Linked DNA regions of Homo sapiens: all the other regions are linked to region 4. The links are contacts of gene promoters, found by promoter capture Hi-C in blood cells and fetal thymus (Javierre and others, 2016). All regions are on one chromosome and are shown on one strand. The core of a region is centred on a gene start or on the middle of the fragment in contact, and the rest is flanking DNA. Distances in the headings are between cores, read along the strand shown. Region 1 holds the start of SSTR3 (somatostatin receptor 3). Region 2 has its middle 11 kb from the start of IFT27. Region 3 has its middle 1.8 kb from the start of C1QTNF6. Region 4 holds the start of CIMIP4 (ciliary microtubule inner protein 4). Region 5 overlaps IFT27 (intraflagellar transport 27).

Region 1 (2,700 bases), core at 189-2,688, 200 kb after region 4:
GTAAGCTGCAAAGGGTCACCCAGCTGGAGAGTGGGAAGCCAGAATTCGAACCCAGTTCTATCTACTTCTAAACCATCAGTACCTCCTGGCCACACTGGCTCCTCTGAAGGCCTCAGGCTGAGAAGGATCAAAGGCCATGACAGTCCTGAATAGTGCAGGGCGATGGCCCCTGGCTCTCTGCTTGTCCTCTACATGCTTCGGCCTTCCCCCCAAAGACACCTGGCTTATGCTTGCCAGTGCCGACTGACTCACTGGCACCCCAGGCCTGGGGCCTGATCCCAGGAGCACACCCTACAGGCCCAGCGCTGGGGGCTTGGGCTCTGCTGCACAGCGATGATGCCAAATTGCTGTGTGACCTCGGGCAAGTCACTTCTCCCCGCTGCACCTCAGTTTCGTCATATGGAAGACAAGCGGACCCACCTCCCAGGGTTGTTTGCAGAGATTAAACGGAGGCGTGCCAAGCACAGTGCCGGGTATGGAGGGGGAGCTCAGGAGAGCTGCCACGTGAGCTGGGGAAGCCAACGACATGATACATCTGGCTCCCTCCAGCCCTGACAGCCTGCGATTCTGTGATTCCGAGATCCTAGAATCATGGCACGAGATTCTGAGACTAACGCCCCTGCCCCTGCAGCCGACCGGGAGGTCACAGGAAGGCCTCCCTCCTGCCTCCCTGGGAGTCCCCACCCTCTGCCTCCCCAGCCCCAGCCTCCCAAGTTCATCCTGGGCAGAGGATGGGCTTCCAGGACCCCACCCTTCGGGACATCATCCGGGCCCCAGCCTCCTTACCTGCCCATGGGGTGAGGGCTTCCCTCCTTGCCGCCAGGCTGGTTATCATTCTGCTGTCCCCTCTCCCTGCCCAGTCCCCAGGTGCCCCCAGGGCACTCCTAACTAGGGTCCCCACAAGGCACCCACTTCTAGACCGCTTGCGGGCTCAGGTTCCCTCCCAGGCCCTCGGCCACGGCTGTCCACAGAGCCTCTCCCATCTGGTCTCCGGCCCTGACTTCCCAACCAGAGCCTGGTACGTCACCCCCCATCTCCAGGACACATCCTGGGGGGGCAGGGGCAAGGATAGGGGGGAGAAGCTTCCCAGGGTGAGGAAGAGAAGAGGGGAGCAAGGGACACAGAAGCCAATAGAAATAGAGGGGAAAGGGGGTCGGGAGGAGGTGGAGAAAGAGAGAGAGAGAGAAAGAGGGAGGGGGAGAGAGAGAGAGGGAGAGGGAGAGGAGACCGTGAGTAGGAGGAAAGGCAGAATGAGGGGGAGTGATGAGAGATGCGTGACAGGGAGAAGACGAGAAGGAAAGAGAGGAGAGGAGACACGGGTGAGAGGGAGAGATGCAGAGAGAGGCAGGAGGGAGGAAGGAGAATGAGGGGGTGGCAGGGAGAGTGACAGAGAGGGACTGTGCCACAGATGGTGACATGGAGCCCGTGAAGGAGGGAGTAAGCAGGGAGGGGCTGAGGGCCGGAGAGCAGGTGTGGGGGGTGGGGGCGGGGTGCAGGTTAAGGGAGGAGGCCCGGAGAGGGAGCAGGAGGGGCGCAGACCCTGTTACCGGGGAGATTTCAGCCACCCACGCCCGCTGGCCTTGGCTCCTGCAGGGAGTTGGAGAGAAGAATGTGCTCAGTGCTCAGGGGAGCCGAGGCTGCCAGCCAGTAGCCAGAGCAGCTCGTGAGGCCACTGCGGCACAGGTCCCCCGGGGCAGCAGCTGTGTCCCAAGGCAAGGCTGGGTGTGGGGCTGGCCAGCCCGGGAGTCCACAGTCCAGCCCTGCAGTCGGGCACACCGGCCGCAGCACGGACCACTGGGGAGGCCGGGTGGGGGTCATTAGTCCTGGGATTGGTTACATCTGGAGAGCCCCAGGCAGGGTGAGGAGTGGAAGGACAGAACAGAGAACCAATATTTTAGGCTTTGAGGGCAAAATCATTGTGCAGTGAGAAAACAGATTTTTACTATTTTGTAACTGACAAAACTCAAAATAGAATAATAATAATTGAGGCCAGTATTTTGTAATGTAGGTCCACTCATGAGAAGAATAGAGTTCTTTTTACAGACATCACCTTTTGCTTAATTGGAGTTTAGAGTTAGTGTTTCATCAAACCGATTGCAAATGTTCATCCGTAAAAACCATTCTCAGCTCCTAGGCTGTACAAAAACAGGCAGTGGGTGGGATTTGCCCCGTGGGCCATATTTACTGATCTTTGGTCTAAGAGACTCTGCCGTACAGTCCTGAGCACAGGCCCAGATGTCTTGGGATGCCGTGCCCCTGCCTGTGCTGATTCCTGCCTCAGCACAGGAGTGATAAGGAAAGGAACAGTCAGAGACGGAAGGGAAAAGGACACACGTCTTGGCTGAGCACCTACTATGTGCCAGGCTGTACCTAGGCTGCTTTCCAAACTGGGCCATTCCCTGGGACCAGGGCTGGACCTCCTTTGTCACTAGGTACCTGGCACTGCAGAGAACTGGAAGTTGAATGCATCCAGAGGTGCCACCATGCATGCGGCAGCACACAGTAGGACACACCCACTTCCAGCCGGAGCCGGCCTGGTCTCTTAACGCTGCCCGTCCCTTTGCCTTGTGCCCGGGACAAGGCCCTTGCTCCAGGTCTCAGCCTCCCATTGTCCTTGTCCGTACAAGTTCATGAGGTGTGGGTGGGCTCCTGGGAGCGTGTCCTCAGGGTCAAGGGTGGGTTTTCCATGGCACTGACCAC
Region 2 (2,700 bases), core at 191-2,690, 220 kb before region 4:
ATACCTTGGAGCCTTCTCTGCTCCCTGCTCCTGAAGTGACTCCCCTAGGGCTCATCCTGACCCTTCCTTCCCTCCAGGGGCTTCCTGGTGAGCACTTTCTCTGTCACTTGACAGACAGCAGTCCACTTGATATGGCTGGGCTTGGGACAATAATACCTGTAACCTCCCTCTTCTTTAAAGAGTTACCACGAGGGTCAAAACTGACACCACGTAGTGCCTAAGCGTGCTTTGCAAACTGTGAAATGCTGGACAAAGGTAACGGCTGTCACTGTTACCATGATCAGCTCCGTTCAGAGGTTGGTTCCCTCATCCTCTCCTCCAAATATTTTTGGCACAAGTCGTCAGCACCCATATGCGGCATCTGGGAGCTGAAATTCAGAAGCCGCCTAACGGGTTGTGAAAATATCCGTTAGATGTTCAGGCTATAAAGCTGGGGGGCCTTTCTCCAATGGAACTGCAGGGGAAACGCAGGCTGGCTGAGAGAAGAGCATTATCCGACTGGGCCAGTGGGGCAGGACTCCAGGCTGCCTCCCGAGCCTCTTAGAGCTGTAAACAGGCGTGATTGTTTTGGCAGGAGGCATCCCACTGTCAAAGAGGAAGCTGATGAGATGCAAAGCAACCCAGACCCTTTCAACTTCTCCCACCCGAGGGTGGTGTGCCCAGTGATGCGAGCACCCGGTAGAGGGACAGGAGGGCAGACATTTAAGCCAACAGATCTGAGTTTAAAGTCTGAGCAAAAAACATGTCTGTGGCCTACTCTCAGTATCCCCATCTGGCTTGCTGGGAAAGATTTTGAACATCCTACCGACTTAATCTTTGTTGGGAAAACACAGTTTTGGGATATGCCGAGCTGGAGAGTGGGCTCTGAATTGTGTAATATACTCCCCGACTGCTGGACTTCACCTGGTCTGGTAACTCTTACCTGGGCTCCGTCCATTTTCCAGAGGAGGAAACTGAGGCTCAGCTAAATGCATCAAATGACACGTGGACACGAAATAGCTAATAAGAAGAAGGACTGAGACGAGAATTGAAATCTTCTCTCTCCAAACCTGAACCCCCTGGCTTACTGGCTGGGTGATCTTGGGAGAGCTCGTGAACTTCTCTGAGCCTCTGTTTCCTTATCTGTAAAGTGGGGCTGATGATGAGACCTACCTCTGAGAGCTGTGAGGGTTACATGGGATTCTTACATGGAAACCACTTGGCCCAGCCGAAGAGTAAACACTGGGTGAATGCCCCCGGTTATTACTACTTTAGGGCACACAGTTGTTAAATAAATAGAGGAGTGGATGAATAAATAAATGCACTCTTTTCTCTACCAGGGACTGGAAGCTTTCTTTGCAAGAAGCCCATGAAGTGTAGGCAATTTCCTTTTGATGGCAATAAAGTTGGGCCTCGCTTCCTCTGTGATTCACATTCTTGAAGATCTTTCCAAATGCAGAGAAAGGGCTGGCCCCAGATCATCCGACATGGTCTCTCTGGTGATGCTGACAAGGTGACGTTTTGGATGATTATGCAAGAAACCTTCCAAGAACTGACCCTCTGCTCCAGCAAAAAGCTTTGAATTTTGCAAAACTGCCGGAGCATAGCAATTTCTCATCTGGCGCTGGCTCACCCAGTGAGCTTTGCAGGCATCCCAGAATTGTCTCTGAAACACTCTGCCCATTGCCCTCTCTTCGCCCCTCGAGAGTTAACAGATGTGAGCGCTACAGGAGAGGGTGACAAGTGGCCCAAGACCTGGAGAAGCTGGGGTGGTAAGAGCAGGGCGCAGGCTTCTTGCTGGAGTGCATCCCAGGCGGCCCCGCAGGCTCTCTGGTGAATACAGAGAGCATCAGAGCACACTCTGTTTCCACAGCACGATGTTCAAGGGACTGGTCCTGCAGCGACTGCTTCCCTGCCACATTTGCTCTGGGCTGTGGAGAGCTGGCTGCTTTCTAGTTTGTGTTCCTGAATACTGGACACGCATCGGGACTGTGGTGCAAATAACCCCACAGGATAGACCAGTTTAGCTCGGGCTCCAGGATTAGATAAACCACATACAATCCCCAACTCCAACACTGGCTTGGTGGGGCTTCCCCAGGAGCCAATCCACAGCAAGGACTAGAGTACAAGTGGTTTATTGTAAAGTGATTCCCAAAGCACCTCCAGGGGAGTGGACAAGTGAGAGAGGGAGAAGGAGGAAGGCAGAAGGGGGAACTAATGAGCCCACCACCACCACCTGTGGTCTACAGAGGCTCAGGCCTGCCGGGCTCTGGGAGACTGCCTGGAGCTGACCTCAGATCATCCTGGCAGAGGGGAGGAAGCTGGTGTGTTCTGATCCAGCTCACTGTTCTGTGTTGGTTGAGGGCTGCACAGGGCACTGCTCTCGGGCGCTTCTGCCTCGGCCTGTGCAGGGGCTGAGTGGGCTCCCACAGCCCTTGGACAAGAGGCTTAGGTCTTCAGGGCAAGGGGGATGGGGGTGCAGGCCCCCCGGTATCTGGGATATGAGATCCATCACCCAGGCTTGGATGGAAAGTATACTCAACGGAGGAAGTGCTCAAGGCAGGAGGCGATTACTATTACAGTTTGCTACTCATGTGTCTGGAAGGGCCCTTCCTTCCTTGCTTCCTTCCTTTTTTCTTTCTTTCTTTCTTTCTTTCTTTCTTTCTTTCTTTCTTTCTTTCTTTCTTTCTTTCTTTCTTTCTTTTTTTCTTTCTCTTTCTT
Region 3 (2,700 bases), core at 23-2,522, 180 kb after region 4:
CAGAGCCTAGGTGTTCCAGAACTGCAGTCCTCAGCCCCCTTTGTGCCAGGCACATGGGAGGGCTTAACCCATGTTTGTTGGGTGAATGACCAGGCTGACCTCCTCAGGTATCATGCAAGTGTTACCAGAGAGGGGTACTGATCAGACCCCAAGAGAGAATTCTTGGATCTTGCACCAGAAAGAATTTGGGGTAAGTCCACAGAGCAAAGTGAAAGCAAGTTTATTAGAGAAGCAAAGAAACAAAAGAATGGCTACTCCATAGGCAGAGCACCCCCAAGCACTGCTAGTTGGCTATTTTTATAGTTATTTCTTGATCCTATGCTAAACAGGGGTGGATTATTCATGAGTTTTCCAGGAAAGGGGTGGGAATTTCCTGAAACTGAGGCTTCCTCCCCCTTTTAGACAATATAGGGTAATTTCCGGACATTGCCATGGTATTTGTAGGCTGTCTTGGTGCTGGTAGAAGTGTGTTTTAGCAAGCTAACACATTTTAATTAACATACAATGAGCAATAAGGATGACCAGATGTCACTTTCATTGCAATCTTAGATTTGGCAGGTTTTGGCTGGTTTGTTTACCGCATACTGTTTCTCAGCAGGGTCTTGATGACCTGTATCTTGTGATACCAGTCCTGCCAACTTCCTATCCCTTCCTGTGACTACAAATGCCTGACCTCCTGGGAATGCAGCCTGGCAGGTCTTAGCCTCATTTTACCCAGCCCCTATTCAAGATGGAGTTGCCCTATTTTGAACACCTCTGACATATTTCCCTACTCTCTTTTACGAGGGAACGTTTAATCTTAAGGGTTGTAGAGGCATGAAGATCCATCTTCTGTAACTTCTTCAGGCTGAATAGAGGCGATGATATTCCTGCCTAACTATTAGAGTCTCTTGGGTTTGGTGCAGAGAGGAACTGAGTAAGAAAATGTTGGTGTGTTCAGAGTCATTTGTAACTCTGAGTCCTAACAAAAGGTGATATCTGGAAGATTAATGTGTTCAATTTAAGGAAGCACTGAGTAAGCTTATCTTGCATTCTTACACAAAGAGTATAGCAGCAATATATTCTACAACAGCAAAGTAAAATAAGTAAAATTATCCCAAGTAATCCAAATAAGAAGGCTTTCCATGAACTGGGCAAGAATGCCTGTGACTTATCGGGTAAAATGAGGCTGAGACCTACTGGGCTGCATTCCCAGGAGGTTAGGCATTCTTAGTCACAGGAATTGCTAGATGAGCTGATACGGAGTTGCTAGACGATTCCAATACATGCTCAGAATTAGATACTGATCCAGATTTTTATGTTATCCATCCCTCTTGTTTCTGACGAGAAGCAGTCAAGAGATGACTGTTTGGTTCACAGAAAGAAGCAAGGTCAGTCTAAATTGCAGACAAAAAACTCAAAAACAATGGATGAGACTAGAATCTATGACAGGTGTACCATATTTTTTGAAACACCGTTTTTCTCTCTCCAGTCTCCCATTTTTTATTAAAAACAAATCATGGTAGGACCAATTTATTTGCAAAATAAGCTTTAGTCTTATTATACTTGGCTTCATTATTTGCATAAAGTGCAGCAAGTATAATTATTTGCCATACAGGCTCCTTTTAAAATTGGCTTTGTTTCATAAGGTATCTTAGATTAGATGTTTTAAAGCTTTGAGCCCAGCCATGGATTTACCTATGCCTGCAAGAACCTGTATGAGTTAGATAAATTCCTCTCCTCTTGAGGTCCCGAGATAACTCGGGGCTCCCAGGCCTGTCAGAAAGTTACATTCTTTACTTACCACAGGTCAGGAACCCTATACAGGGACTTCATACACAAGGTACAAGACCAGTTTTTCCAAGAGGCTTTTATTGGCTCTATTAGTCAACTTTAATTCCTTAAAGAAGTCTGTTTATATTTGAAAGCATGCCACTCGAGTCAAACCCTTGTTAAATAACCAGTTTCTCCAATTGTGTCCTGTTACAAAAAAAAAAAAAGAAGAAAGAAGGAAAAACAGATTCTTACTGCACTTATGCAAATAACTATATTGCCGTAAGTTAAGAACACTCACAAATAGTTTCCAAATTCTGCAGAAATCAGGTAAAGAGAAAAAAACATATTCCAAATTTTGTTTTTGGACAAAACTTTGTTTTATAATCCTTACCGGAGCGTACTTTACTCAATTGTTAAAAGCTGTAAATAGCTCAAGAAGGGGGGGTTTCTTGACTCTGAAAAACAAAACAGAAAGATCAACAACATTTTAAGCAAAAAGTCATAAAAGATTATTTCAGTCTTTTATTAGTTCAGTCTATGCAATTAATTCCTGTTTTGCTTGATATATATGTGTTAGTTTTCCAAGAGTCTTGGATGATGTTTTCTTTTTCTCTGCATTTAAGAGTACTCATCAGAGTCCTATAGCTGATTATAAACCACCTTTTGAAGAGAATAAAAGCAAGACAACAATTGTCTATGGATGACAGAAAGACTTAGAGCAGTCATGGTTAAAGAATTAATATCATTGACTAGGAAATGTGGATACCTCTGTGGCATATAATAAATTAACATCATAACAATTATAATTATTATTGATAATGTCCATTAGTATTGATAATGTTCATATCAGAATTATAGGAGTTTCCCATAATTTTGGAACACATACCAATAACATATTTATATAAACACAGCCCAAAGAAAGCCAAACACAATTTCATATTTGAC
Region 4 (2,700 bases), core at 176-2,675:
TTTGAATAGGAATGTCACTAGTTCTTATCCTATGCCTATCACATCACTGTATGTTAGGTGTGTTCAGGGCAAATTACTTAGTTTCACAGATCTATGATGGGGAAGAATTGAATCTGAGAAGCTGTACTTAAGGAACGACACTGGAGGAGCCTCAGCCACACCTGGAGCTGATTTATATGACCAGATTCTAGCTTTTAAACTGATGCTTTAATAGGATGAGAATTTTAAAGATCTTAGGAGGGGATGACTATATTTTGCATGTGGAAGGGATGTACATTATTGGGGGCCAGAGGGCAGAGAGTGGCAGGCAGTTGACATGGCTCCCAATGATCCCTGTTTCTTGGTATAATTCTCTCCCCTTTGGTGTGGACTGGACATAGTGATGAATGGAATGTGGCAAAAATGAGGGATGTTGCATCCATGATGAACTTATAAGAGACTACAACTTCTGTCTTTTTCACACACTCTCTGCAGCTCTCCTCAGCTCATCTTCTCTGACAGAAGCCAGTTTCCCTGTTGTGAGATGCCCTATGGAGAGGTCCACAGGGCAAGGAACTCAGAGTGGCCTCTTGCCAACAGCTCCAGAGTAGCTGGATCCTGCCATGTGAATGGGTTCCTTCTCTGGTCGAGCTTTGAGATGAGACTAGAGACCCAAGCAACACCTTGATTGCAGCCTGTGAGAGACCCTGGGACAGAAAAATCACCAACACTCCACCGGTATTCCCAACTCACAGAAACTGTGAGATAGTAAATGTTGTCTTAAGCCCACTAAGTTTTGGGGTGATTTGTTGTGCAGCAAGAGATAACTAACACAAGTCCATGTCAAGCATTCTCACATCTGGTAAATTAGTCTGGTCTTCACAAATACCCAGTAAGGTGTTCGGAGACACTACTAATTTATCTTCTTTCACAGATGGAGAAAATGAGGCTCCGAAAAGACACAGGACTTCACCAGGTGGGGCTAAAATTAAATTGCACATCTTCAAGCTAGGTGAAGTTCAAGTTAGCTCCAAGTTTTCTTTCTCCTCCTATCCCCAGCCACCAACCTGACGTGCCCACGGCAGCTCTGTACGTCCCAGTGCACTGCCAGTCCACAGCAGTCTGGACGGGCTACAATGGAAGTGTGGACTCACTTCCAGTTTCTGACCCAGAGAGAGAGATCCCAAGAGACTTTGGTCAAAGAGGGCGGGAAGGTAAGTCCAGTCTAGGCAGTCTTCACTCACAAGCAACTCTGAATGGGGAGAAGGAAGATGAAACCCCATGTCCTGGAAGAACCCTGGCCCTTCATAAGTCTCTGCCTCACCTCTCCAATCTCTTTCATAACAGCAGGAAACACGTGAACCACACTGATGTGTGCTGAAGCCCAGAAGTGCAGATCCCCACTGCAGAACTACTGGTGAAGACCAATGGATGGTTGCTGGGAAGTGGCCCTCCCCAAGATGTTCATTGGAGTTGCCATGGTGATCACTATACACAGGGCTCTGTTACCTCAGAGGGCTGATAGGCCCACCCGTAGGGAAAAGAGGCCAGGAGAAAGCCAGGATTGAGGCCAGGAAAAGGCAGGAGGGGCTTCAATTATTGTTCACTCTCTCATCCACTCTAGAATGTCAGTTGAGCCCCCACTACATGCCAGGTGTGCCAGGCACAGGGGGCTCAGATGCTACCAAGTGCAAAAGATGTTCTTGGGAGCTCAAAGCACTAAGTAGGGAGAAGAACTAGCTCTGTGTAGGAAAAAGGAGGAAGGACTTATGAAAGAGCCATTTGAGTTGGATCTTGAAGGATGCCTAGGAACTTAACAGTTTTGAAGGGATGAGAATATTAAAGGCATGGATGTGTATAACAGCATAAATGTAGGTCGAGGTCAATGGGGAAGGAGAAAGATGCATCTGGAGCTGTCTGATTTGGACACCCAGGGATCAGGGACCTGGGAGTAAAACTAAAGGAAGGGTCCTCTCTCCTATTCCTAAACAACAAGGGCTACAGAAGGAGATCAACAAAATTAAGTGACTTCTTTTCTGCAGAGAAGAAGGAGGCAGAAGTCATTGGTGCCAGCACTGGCCCATTCCTGTCTGGCTGTTGCTCAGCCTGGACAAAGAGTGGGTATAGTGAACGCCTCCTGCAAGCCCAGCCTTTCAGGATTTCCCCAGGAAACAGAGAGTGCTGTGGTTAAACTTGGAGTCCCCAGAATCTGGGCCTGTCACTTATTAGATAAGAGACTGGCCAAGTCCTTTAGCTGAACTTCCTTCACATGTGAAACAGATATCACCCAACACTAAGGATAAGGGTGATGGGCGAATAAAACAATTTTTTGCAAAATGTAGCACATTGCCTTGCACAGAGAGAGACATCACAAAACTCTAAGCTACTTCCGCAAGCAACCCATCAGCAAGTCCTTCGAAGTACACTAGATTTGGATGCCTTCGTCCACCTCCACAACTCCCCCTACTCCCTGGTCCAAGCCACCCTCATCTCTTGCCTAAGTATTATCTATTGCTGCACGACAATCTTGCCATAAACTTCGAAGCTTAACATACAACTGTTATCTCACAGTTTCTTTGGGTCGGGTGTCTACTCATGGCTTAGCTGAGTTCTCTGCATTGGGGTCTTAGCAGGCTACAATCCAAGTATTGGCCAGGGCTGCAGTCTCATCTGAGGTTCCACTAGGGAAGAATATGCTTCCAAGCTCATGTGGCTGTGGGA
Region 5 (2,700 bases), core at 65-2,564, 240 kb before region 4:
TTCAGCTCTGCTCCTGAATTCAGCTGGAAGTTGGCTCCTCCTGCTTATGAGATTCCTCACAGATTTGTTCTGGTTAATTTCATAAATCTTTCCTCTGACTGTCAGTCAGAGTCACCAACACTTACAGGAAACCGCCTGTGTTGGCTATGAGGGCTCAGAAGCACAGGGAGGTGAAATAACTGATAAACACATTTGCAGAGCAACAGGATGACAAGTGCAAATTCAAATAGCACAAACTGAGAAGCAAGGCGTCTGGGAAGCATCGAGAAAAGAAATGAATGAGAGGATTCACTGGGGAGGGAGGCTTCCCTAGGGGCAAGGGCTGGGCCTGGGGGCGACAGCAGGCAGGGCGCTGCAGGACAGAGAGGATGACGTCTGCAAGGGCACGATGCGAGATCACCTGTGACCTCACAGTTGCCAAGGCCGATGGCCTTTTCTTGGTTCTCATCCTCCTTGACTTCTCTGAAGGATGTGAGTCAGCCTGAAGTGACCCCTTCCTTCCCGAGTCCTGTCCCCGTGGCCTCAGTGACCCTGCCCTGGCCTGGTTCTCCTGCTATCTGCCTGCCCCTCTGCCCCCCGAGTGTGGGCATTCCCATGGGCCTGTCATCGGCGGCGCTCTGCTCCTAGTCCACTCCGTCCCACTGACTCTCATCACCTTGACAGAAGGCAGGATCTCCCTCCCAAGCTTTGTCTGTATATCCAAAAACCCGTGTGCGTTGCCACTAGAATGAAGGACCTTCCTCCAACCTCAGTCTGTCTACAGCCAAGCTCCGTCATGCCCTGGTCCTGAGTGGGCTGCCCCCATCACCCAAGCTTTCTGTTTGTGACGCCACCGTGTGTTTTCATCGTCCCCAGATTCAACGGGTCACCTCTGACTGCTCCTCCTCCTTCCTCCCATCTTCAGGCAGCCTCCCTTGCATTCCTCACATCCTTGGCTGAGTCTCAGCCCACCTCTGCTCGGCCCTCCCTGCTGACCCTGCCCCAGTTAGCTCAGCCTCACTGCTGGGTTTCTATCTCAGCCCCAAGCCCATCCTTCCACAGTGTGCAGGGGAGGGGCCTCTGCAGACACATTTCTCCCTTGCTAGGAGCTTCCTGTTAGGCTCTGCCAATGGGAGTTCTGGAAGAAGAAGGGAAGGCTGGAGTCGGGGGAGAGGACACTGCTCTTCCCGCCTGCTTCTCCTTTTTCTTAGTACTACCCTAGCAATGGCCTGCACCCCAGCAGCACTAACTGCTTCCTGTCTTGGGGTGTGTGTGTGTGTGTGTGTTTCCCTACTCCCAGACCAGCTTATTGTTGCCCCCAGAGGAAACAGCGCCAGCGGGCAGTGCCCTCTTCTCAGAGATCCACACCTTGGCTCCCAGGGCCCCTCCTCCCTGCTTCTGGGCTGAGAGCCCCACATGCTTCCCTCTGCTTCCCCAGCCCAAGAGGTGGTGCTCCTTCCTGCAGTTACTACCCGTGCTGCCTCAGTTTCCCCCTTTTCCTCTTCCAGTCCTCTAGCACCAGTGTCATTCACATCCTACTGAAATCCTCACTGTTGAAATGCCGAGTAGAGTTGCTGGTTTTTGCCTGGCCCCTGACTTATGTAGTCCTTGGTACCAGGAGTGGTCTTAAAACATGGACCCTCCAGGATGGTTTGGAACTGGTTTGGTGTGTCTTGCCCTGAACACAGGGCTGGGCTCCTCCCAGTGGGAAATGGGTCCTGGTGCTCTGTGGCATGTGCTGGGGTCACGCGGCAGGTGACTGAACTCCTGAGGTGCCGGGACCAGCCGGGCAGGGCCCCTTCCTCAGGGGTCCGGATCCCAGCTCCCTGGGTCTCTTCAAGCTTCTGACAACCCCGACCTCTGCCCGCCAATCTGTGTCAACTCAATGCTGCCTTCTTGCTTCCTCAGTTCTCCAACACTTGATGAAGCAATTCCATACATTAAAATTTCTCTGCTGAAATGACGACTGCGTTTTCTGTCTTCCCGACTGTGCCTTGAACACTTCTTTTCTCTTCTTTTTTCTCCCGGCTGTTATCCACCCAGTGGGTGGCATCAACAGGTGGACCCCCATGACACAGTGCCTCCATCTTGGCAAACCTTCACACAAACCCCACTGAGGATTCCTTCATAGCCTACCCATCTCCACGGTCAGCCCTAACCCACCTTCCCACTCTCTCCCTAGTAATCCCTTACCCCAAATCTGGGCTCTGCATTCCTGTTCGCCCAGTCCCTGGAAATTCCTCAAGGCCACCTCCTTCCAGGTACCCCTAGACCAAATTCAAATCCTGTCCATTCTCTGCAAGGAAAGCTCAAAGAATACCCTTCCTGCACAGCCTCTGAAGGCCATCTCTCCCTCCTTCATCTTTATCTGTGTGGCTAACGTGGATCGTTGCTCAGTGGTAGCGCACGATGTGATGTCAGAGCAACCCTCCCAGGAGGCTCTATTACCATCTCCATGTATATCAAGAGGCAGCATATTATGGTACTTAAGGGCACAGACTCTGGAGCCAGACTCCAGCTCCATCACTTTCTAGCTGTGTGAGTTTAAATCAGTTACTTAACCTCTCTGTGCCTCAGCTGCAACATGTATAACCTAAGATAATCATAGCACCTACCCCACAGAATTGTTATGAGGATTTAATGAGTTAATATGCACAGTGCCTGGCATATATAAGTACTATTTAAGTGTTTTTTTAAAAGTAAACAAAATACAGATCAATG

Evidence for each region. Contacts are between HindIII fragments. The CHiCAGO score rates a contact against its expected background, and 5 or more counts as called.
Region 1: the fragment with the promoter of SSTR3 here is called in contact with the fragment with the promoter of CIMIP4 in region 4 in 10 of 17 cell types (neutrophils, M1 macrophages, M2 macrophages and 7 more); the score reaches 12.3 in neutrophils.
Region 2: a fragment that was not itself captured here is called in contact with the fragment with the promoter of CIMIP4 in region 4 in 9 of 17 cell types (M1 macrophages, M0 macrophages, megakaryocytes and 6 more); the score reaches 14.6 in M1 macrophages.
Region 3: a contact is called between a fragment that was not itself captured here and the fragment with the promoter of CIMIP4 in region 4, in 2 of 17 cell types (M2 macrophages and endothelial precursors). The highest score is 5.4, in M2 macrophages.
Region 5: a contact is called between a fragment that was not itself captured here and the fragment with the promoter of CIMIP4 in region 4, in 4 of 17 cell types (M0 macrophages, endothelial precursors, M1 macrophages and 1 more). The highest score is 6.1, in M0 macrophages.

Annotation. Positions count from the first base shown.
Region 1 is chr22:37,211,039-37,213,738 of GRCh38, forward strand. SSTR3 (somatostatin receptor 3) reads right to left here and starts at 1,439. Exons shown (of 2, transcript NM_001051.5): 1 at 787-1,439. RefSeq lists an enhancer at 278-1,257. The HindIII fragment of the contact is 10,151 bases long and covers 1,081-2,700 here.
Region 2 is chr22:36,785,969-36,788,668 of GRCh38, forward strand. No RefSeq gene overlaps it. Among named protein-coding and RNA genes, the nearest start is that of IFT27, 11 kb to the left of the region's middle. The HindIII fragment of the contact is 226 bases long and covers 1,328-1,553 here.
Region 3 is chr22:37,188,719-37,191,418 of GRCh38, forward strand. It overlaps a transcript of C1QTNF6 not described here. Among named protein-coding and RNA genes, the nearest start is that of C1QTNF6, 1.8 kb to the left of the region's middle. RefSeq lists enhancers at 1-538, 539-1,172. The HindIII fragment of the contact is 508 bases long and covers 1,019-1,526 here.
Region 4 is chr22:37,006,426-37,009,125 of GRCh38, forward strand. It overlaps CIMIP4 (ciliary microtubule inner protein 4), which reads right to left and starts at 1,426. Exons shown (of 6, transcript NM_001163857.2): 1 at 1,304-1,426. The HindIII fragment of the contact is 2,868 bases long and covers 1-2,522 here.
Region 5 is chr22:36,769,803-36,772,502 of GRCh38, forward strand. All of the region lies in intron 1 of IFT27 (intraflagellar transport 27), which reads right to left. Among named protein-coding and RNA genes, the nearest start is that of IFT27, 5.0 kb to the right of the region's middle. The HindIII fragment of the contact is 1,007 bases long and covers 812-1,818 here.